Regions from separate parts of the Homo sapiens genome. Here all the other regions are linked to region 3. The links are contacts of gene promoters, found by promoter capture Hi-C in blood cells and fetal thymus (Javierre and others, 2016). All regions are on one chromosome and are shown on one strand. The core of a region is centred on a gene start or on the middle of the fragment in contact, and the rest is flanking DNA. Distances in the headings are between cores, read along the strand shown. Region 1 has its middle 12 kb from the start of VAV2. Region 2 has its middle 3.8 kb from the start of BRD3OS. Region 3 holds the start of SARDH (sarcosine dehydrogenase).

Region 1 (2,700 bases), core at 114-2,613, 270 kb after region 3:
CCATCCATCCATCATTCATCCACCCATTTATCCACCCATCTACCCATCCACCCATGTGTCTATCCACCTACCCAACCATCCATCCACCATTCATCTGTACATGTATCCAGCCATCCATCCATCCATCCATCCGTACATTTATCCATCCATCCATCCATCCATCCATCCATCCATCTGTACATTTATCCATCCATCCATCAATCCATCCATCCATCCACCCTGTGCAAGGCCTGGGGAGATGCAGAGCCAGTCTAGGATTGTCACAGTGTCAGGAGGGAGGTGTCAGATGTGTCTGAGAAACAGAGGCTGCTGCCCTGGCCTCTTGTCTGCTAGGGAGGTCCCAGGGGTCCTAGAGGGTGCTGTGTTGTTTCTGAGCAGAGTTAGACACCTGCAGATGCCCTGAGCCCCCTCCCATCCCACCACACACCCCAAGCTTCATGTTGATGCTGTGTGGCAACTGTGCTGAACCTATCAGAGGTCTCCAAGGCAAGTGTTCTCCCAGGGTCACCAGGCTCATCCTGGCTCCAAAGAAGTGGGTTTTGCTGCTAGGGCCATGGTGAATTTCTTGGCTCCATCCCGTGGGAGAATGTGAAGGTCTGATTGCAGCTTCTGTGGGGCCCACGGGTGGGCTCAGGCTGGAGATGTTGATCTCAGACCCCAGTGGTGACTGTGGCACATCCAGGATGGGAGAGGCCGGTAGGAATGGCCTCCTGAGACTGGGAACCCCTTGAGAAGAACCCCAAGGTCTGGCCTCCCCAGCCTCTCACACATGCTCGGGGCTGTCTGTAGGAGAGCCAGGGGCTTCCCCAAGTAGGGGCTCCACCCAGTCACTCTGAGGCCCTGGGCAGGCGAGTCAAAACTCTGGCCTCTGGCCTCTGTGTGAAATGGGCACAGCAGGTACCCAGGGCGCTGAGATGGCCGCATGCCCAGCGCTGAGGACAGCTGACCCTCCCCTGGCTCAGGGCCCATGCAGTCTCCTCCAGGGTCCTAGCTCAGAGCTCCATGCTCGCCTGCCGTGACGCTAGGAAGTCCCTCCCATAGCCATCTTCACTTCCCTGAATGGTCCAAGCTCCCATGGGCTTACTCGGCAGAGGGTGGACCCGCTTCTCTCAAACACCAGTGGGGCCACCCAGGGTCCCAGCGCCCCACGACAAAAAGGGCAGGCAGTGGGGAAGTGGATGCTCAGCCCCCGCAGGTCACGTGCAGCCTGGACAGCTCCCCTCTGTGTCTGTCACCGGGAACCTTTGGCCCAGAGTGTGGCCCAGCTGGCCTGGCTCCTCCCAGGCCCTGGCTGCCTCAGATGTGAGCCTGGAGGTGGCCACTCTGAGGCCCCTGCTCACACCCTCGCCACTGCCACCCGGACATGGGGCCATCCCACGGTGACAGGCACGTGCACCAGCACAGGTGTGTCCTCCTGTGGAACATTTAACTTGAGCTGCACCAGGCACTGCGTTATTATTTCTCCTCCCCCAGCCCACGGCTTCCCTTCTCTGTCCCTCCAGGGCCAAATCGCAGATCACGGTCCTCATGATCTGTCTGCCTTGGCAGCCCGGGGTGTCATGAACCCGGCCAGCTCTGCGCCCAGGTGCTGATCACTGATGTTCTCATTGCGTTTGCAACAGGCCTTTGTCAATGGCCGCCATCCCCACATACCCATGCCCAGCTGTGTCCCCAGCCCTCCTGCTACCACGGCCCGAAAGGGTCAAGCAGTGCTGCCAGCCGTGCCCCAGGAGGGACCTGCTGGCTTCCTGGCCCTGCCGCCTCTTCTCCAGGTGAAATGGACCCTGCTATGCCCCAGTAGCCAGTGGCGTCCTGCCCCCTCCCCTCCCCTCCGCTCCCACCACTTGGTGCCTGGAGGAGCCCAAGGACGCTAACCCCTGCATGCTATTATGGGCTGGCTCACCTTAAGGAACCCCATTGCTGAGGGCAGGTGGGCACGGAGAGTCCCTAGCACAAGGGAGCAATCGCTAAAACCTCCCCCAGTGGTGAGCTGGGATGAGACGCCCATGGGAGGGAACATACTGGTGGGTGCGATGCCTCAGACTTTTGAGCGGCTGGGGGCTCATCGTTAGATGGGTGGCCATGGATGGCTGTTGCAGGGAGGCCTGAATGCGCTGAGGAAAGCCAGCGAGCAGCTGAGGGCCATTGATCACCCTTTCCAGTGAGGCAGGAAAGCCAGAGGACCTCTTTGGCAGCTTCTCTAAAGAGGCTTTCAGCTCTGGTGGCTGTCGGGGAGAAAAAGCTGAGATCTGGCCCAGCCCAAGCTGAGGAGCTCCAGAGAAGGGCAGATTCACAAGCTTAGCAAGTATTTTTGGTCAACAGCAGGACCCTGACTGGGACCCAGTGTGGCCACAGACTCAGGTCGGGGACACCTAGGGCAACACACCCGAAAGTCATACTCCTTGTGACCCCTCTGAAACCTCTGGGCCTGGCCCGGTGTAGTGGCTCATGCCTGTAATCCCAGCACTTTAGAGAGCCAAGACAGGCGGATCACCTGAGGTCAGGAGTTCGAGACCAGCCTGGCCAACATGGTGAAACCCCGTCTCTACTAAAAATGCAAAAAAATAGTCAGGCTGTAATCCCAGCTACTTGGGAAGCTGAGGCAGGAGAATCACTGGAACCTGGAGGCAGAAGCTGCATGAGCCAAGATCGCACCACTGCACTCTAGCTTAGGCAACAGAGTGAGACTCTGTCTCAAAA
Region 2 (2,700 bases), core at 8-2,507, 280 kb after region 3:
AAAAAAGAACCCCACAATATCCATAAATACTCTGTTGCCCAGGCTGGAGTACAGTGATGCAATCATGACTCGCTGCGACCGCTGCCTCCTGGGCTCAAGCAACCCTCCTGCCTCAGCCTCCCAGGTAGCTGGGACTATAGGTGCCTTTCACCATGCCCAGGTACTTTTTGTAGAAATGGGGTTTTGCCATGTTGGCCAGGCTGGTCTTGAACTCCTGAGTTTAAGTGATCTGCCCGCCTTGGCCTCCCAAATTGCTGGGACTACAGGTGTGAGCCACTGCGCCTGGGTGACTTTCTTTCTCATAAAGGGTTACAGCCAGCAAGGTGGCCATCCCACAGGCTGGAAAATGTGCCTCTGAAGGAGGAGGGGTTGGGGCAGGAGCTCCATGCTGAACAGGTTGGCTAAACATACACATTCAACAGGTTATAGGAGGAGCTATGAATATTCATGAAGGTCCTGACAACATGCATACTGAACAAACATGCATGTAACATACAACTCATGTTCACCTTGGGGTGGAGACTTAGCATCAAAATGTACTAAAATTAGGCCTTATAGGCTGGGTGCAGTGGCTCGCGCCTGTAATCCCAGCACTTTGGGAGGCTGAGGTCTGGCCAATACGGTGAAACCCAGTCTCTACTAAAAATAAAAAAAAAACTAGCTGGGCACCGTGGTGCACACCTGTAGTCTTAGCTACTTGGGAGGCTGAGGCAGGAGAATCACTTGAACCCAGGAGGCGGAGGTTGCAGTGAGCCGAGATGGCACCACAGCACTCCAGCCTGGGCAATAGTGGGAGACTCCGTCTCAAATAAATAAAAATATATACATACATAAAATAAAATTAGGCCTTATAGTAAAAAGGTCTTTCCAGGACACAAAAGCACACAAGTATGCAGCCTCTCTGAACCAGCCGGAACCAATCCATAGTCAGTGGTCTTACCTGGAGAAAGTTGCTGAAATCAGTCTCTTGTTCAATGAAAGCTGTAGTTGGCTGGGCATAGTGGCTCACACCTGTAGTCCCAGCACTTTGGGAGGCCACGATGGGAGGATTGTTTAAGCCCAGGAATTTGAGATCAGCCTAGGCAACATGGCAAAACCCCATCTCTACCAAAAATACAAAAAGTAGCTGGGTGCAAACTCCACCTCCCGGGTGGACCTACTGGTACACCTAGTGGTGCACACCTGTAGGCCCAGCTACTTGGGAGGCTGAGGTGGGAGGATTGCTTGAGGCTGGGAGGTTGAAGCTGCACTCAGCCAGGATTGCACCACTGCACTCTAGCCTGGAGGACAGAGTGAGACGCTGTTTCAAAAGAAGAGAAAGCTAGTTATGGTGGGTGAATGGGGTCAGTTAGCATCTGGAGCTGGATGAGCTGCAAATCGTTTTAACATTGTTTATCTTGAGGTCAGTACTTACTTAGCTGCTAGAGAAAAGGAACAACCTCGTGGCAGTGAGAATAGAGTTTATTCTTTAATTGTAGAGGTGTAGGACTTAACTTGTGCCTGGCATGGCCCTAAATCTTATTAATTAATTAATTTATTTATTTTTGGAATCAGAGTCTCACTTTGTCACCCAGACTGGAGTGCAGTTGTGCCATCTTGGCTCACTGCAACCTCCACCTCCTGGGTTCAAGTGGTTTTCCTGCCTCAGCCTCCCAAGTAGCTGGGATTACAGGCATGCGCCACTATGTCCAGCTAATTTTTGTATTTTTTGTAGAGATGGGGGTTCACCATGTTGGCCAGGCTGGTCTCGAACTCTCAGCCTCAAGTGATCTGCCCGCCTTGGACTCTCAAAGTGCTGGGATTACAGATGTGAGTCACCATGCCCAGCCACAGGTCTTATTTATAATTTGGTATGTTATCGCCATAAAGAGTCTGTTTTTCAGTCTTCTATGTTTTCAGTCTTACATATTTTAACGCAAATGCTAGTGCCTTGTCTCTAAGTCACCAAAGGGAGGAGTTATAACGACATGAGTGGGCTCTCCTATCCCATCGTGGCTGGGAACTCAGTTTTAAGTTTTTTCTGAGGTCCCCTTGGCCAAGAGGGGATCCGTTCAGTCAGTGAGGAGTTTAGGATTTTATTTTTAGTTTATATTCCCTTCTTTTGGCCAAGATTTGCCAGAGATGGCATTGATGACCAAACTTTTATTTTGTCCTATATCGTTGCTGGGGCTGTGTGCTACCTGCACTGGGTCCATCTTGTCCCTTGGTGGGATCCCTATGGCCAAGAGACTTAGAGCCAAAAGACTGAAAGACAGCTAATTAAATGTTTTAGGACAGATAGGAAAGGAGATGGGCAGGCACTCATTCACCCTTAAAAACCTTTTGTGCAGCCAGGTGCGGTGGCTTATGCCTGTAATCCTAGCACTTTGGGAGTCTGAGGCGGGTGGATCACGAGGTCAGGAGTTTGAGACCAGCCTGATCAACATAGTGAAACCCTGTCTCCACTAAAAATACAAAATGAGCCAGGCATGGTGGCACATGCCTGTAACCCTAGCTACTCGGGAGGCTGAGGCAGGAGAATCACTTGAACCTGGGAGGCGGAGGTTGCAGTGAGCTGAGATTGCACCATTGTACTCCGGTCTGGGCGACAGAGCGAGATTCCATCTCAAAAAAATCAAAATAAAACAAACAACAACAACAACAAAAAACAACCTTTTGTGCAACATAAGAGGCAAAAACCAAAATCCAAAACGTGAGGTT
Region 3 (2,700 bases), core at 139-2,638:
TATAGACACATGATAATGTCTCTACTTCACAGCGGGGGAGTCTGACACACGGAGAGGCTCCCTGAGGTGACCAGGGTCATAGGGCCTCCATGTGGCAGTGCCAGGGACTCTCTCCTGCCCCCTCTTCTGACCATCCCAGGGGGACTCAGGACCCACTGCCACACTCTGTCCCACCTGAACTGTGGGCACTGCCCAAGCCCTGACGAAGCCCAGAACCCTGTCCTAGGCACAGTGGGGGATGTGAGGGGGATCCCAGCTCTCAGGCTGGTCAGGGCTGCCCCCCATCTCCTGCCCCAGTGCCCCATCCCAAGGGAGGGAGCAGGGAGTCTGATTGCAGCGGCGTAGGGGAGTGAGGAGGTGTTGGAGCTTGTCCTCAGCCTCTCAGCCCTCAGTGTGTCAGCCCGCCTGGCTCCTGCCTGCAGAGGTGGCCCCGGACAAGGAGGCATGCCTCCTGCATGTGTCTGTACATACCTTCAGTCCTTGAAGGTCCACAGTCTTCCAGGAGCCCCCAAAAGTGGTGCCCCACCAGGGGAAAGCCAGCTTGAGTGGCACCGAGGAAGGCCCTCCAAGGCTGAACACCCCCACCCCACCACCCACCACCCACCACGGTGCCGCATGGCACAGCACACCTGGTCAGCTGTGGGCAAAAGCCTCCCTCCTCCTTCCGACTGTGCCCAAAAAGCGACAGCTGCTGGCGCCGGAGGCTGCCACGTGCCCCTTCACCACCTGCCTGGTCAGTCAGGGCTCTTCTGACTGTCAGACTGGGGGCTGGCAGCGGCCCCAGCGGGGACAGCCCAGAGCCCCTCCTGCCTGCCACCTCCCTGGAAACAGCTGCCTCCACATTAACCCACTCTCTTGCCCCCTCCAACTCTGTCTCGTACCTGAGTCAGCTTCCCAGGAGTGAGGGCTGAGGACAGCCCTGGGCTTGGGATCAGACAGATGGGTGGGGGTTTTGTCACAGGACTGGGGCCTCGAGCAACAACTTAACCTCACTGCAAAGCAGAGGACCCAGGAACGCCCTCCTCCTCCCAGGCTCAGGGGGTGGTGGGGGTCAAGCGAGGAGAGCGCCTGGCACCTTCGCCTGGTGAGGGTAGGCAGACTTGTGGGGAGGAGCGGCAGGGGGCGGGGAGGCAGCTGCCCATATGGTGAACCCTGGTCCTGCTCATGCAGCTGGATGGTCCCTGCAGCCAGAGGCAGAGGGAGATCCCAGCCAGATCTGACCAGGCCCAGCCCCGCCCACATAGGGGAGGCCCCAGCCTCGTCCCTCCCTGGGGGTGTACCTCCAAGTACCTCTTGTCAGCTGCAGTGCCCCTCGGCCCTAAGAGTGCTTGGCCCAGCAGAGGTGCCTTCACCTTCTTGCTTCCCAAGCAGTGGCCTGGCCGGAACTCCAGGCCTCCCCCGCCCCCCACCCTCGCTGCCAGCCCCATGTCTCCGCCCAGGATCTGGGCGGAGCGTACCGCCCACCACTGCGGCTTCTAGGCCAGCTTAGTTGGGGCTTCTAGGCCAGCCCTGTGGGCAGCTCCCTCTGAGGGCGGCAGAGCAGGGTTGTGAACCCCATGCCCCATTACCCGTAGGCGACCTGGCAGTCACCCTTCCGCTCCAACCCTCATTTCCTCGTCTCTGAAACAGGCGCCTCAGGGTTGCTGCAGTAGACCCAGGCACCACCTGCCTGCTGGAGCCGCCCGAGCTCCCCGCGCCCAGAAGGAGCTATGCACAGGCAGGGTGGGCAGGAAAGGTGGGGTCAGCAGCAGCTTGGGCCAGGGGCCCGTCCACTGCAGGGAGGCTCCTTTGGTGAGGTCATCTCAGCACATGCCCCAGTTTGCTCACCCCCAGGGACAGGATGCTCACTGCCTTCAGAGGCGAGTGAGAAGGCCTGGGTCAGCTTCCCAGGGACAGGGTCTCCTGGTCTGTCTGCGTCCTGCTTTCCCGAGCTCCCAGACCCCTCTGGTGTTTGGGGAGATGCCCCCAAGCCACTGGCTACTGCACAGCACGTAGCCCCCAGGGCAGGGATTCCAGCCTCCATTGACTGTTGGGGACAGCAGTGCCCAGGGAGGGGGCCACACAGCAAGCTGGTGGAGGAGGCAGACCGGATGCTGCAGCCTGACTCTGGGCTGGGGCAAGTTACCCCTTCCCAGACAGAAGTAGACACCCAGAGGAGGGGTGTGGAGGAAACCCAGAAAGAATACACCTCTGGATGCCCAAAGAATCAGAACAGGTGCTGATGGAAAGTCACATCTCCTCCTCGCGCTGGATCAAAGACGGGGCATTTCAATGGCAGTCTGTTAATATTGTAATGATGCCAGCTGCCAATACCGGAAGCGATCGTATAGTAAACTGCTGTAATTAATACCAATCAAATCATTGTGTTCTTATTCACACCGAGGATGTCCGACTGTCTTGTTGCCAGCTTGTCTATCCTCTACATTTACTGAATGCCCAATGTGTACAAAGCACTGCTGGGAAACCTATAGTGACATCTAAGACCCAGCCCCTGCCCTCGAGGGGCTCAGGGTCCACGAAGCAGACAGATCCAGGGAGAGACACGACACCACAAGGCTGGCTTCCTTCCAGCAGGGAATCCAGGAGGACCTCTTAGAGGAGGGGGCCTGGGCTCTGGGCCTGACCACGTGCTGACACCATTCTCAGTCCCTGCCTCAAAGGCAAAGGGCCCACTGGCTTAGGCCCCTGGCTGCCCAGTGG

The links. Contacts are between HindIII fragments. The CHiCAGO score rates a contact against its expected background, and 5 or more counts as called.
Region 1: a contact is called between a fragment that was not itself captured here and the fragment with the promoter of SARDH in region 3, in 1 of 17 cell types (endothelial precursors). The highest score is 5.3, in endothelial precursors.
Region 2: a fragment that was not itself captured here is called in contact with the fragment with the promoter of SARDH in region 3 in 1 of 17 cell types (endothelial precursors); the score reaches 5.1 in endothelial precursors.

What each region holds. Positions count from the first base shown.
Region 1 is chr9:134,003,400-134,006,099 of GRCh38, forward strand. No RefSeq gene overlaps it. Among named protein-coding and RNA genes, the nearest start is that of VAV2, 12 kb to the left of the region's middle. The HindIII fragment of the contact is 1,864 bases long and covers 432-2,295 here.
Region 2 is chr9:134,020,345-134,023,044 of GRCh38, forward strand. No RefSeq gene overlaps it. Among named protein-coding and RNA genes, the nearest start is that of BRD3OS, 3.8 kb to the right of the region's middle. The HindIII fragment of the contact is 3,675 bases long and covers 1-2,700 here.
Region 3 is chr9:133,736,964-133,739,663 of GRCh38, forward strand. SARDH (sarcosine dehydrogenase) reads right to left here and starts at 1,389. Exons shown (of 21, transcript NM_001134707.2): 1 at 1,291-1,389. The HindIII fragment of the contact is 9,698 bases long and covers 1-2,700 here.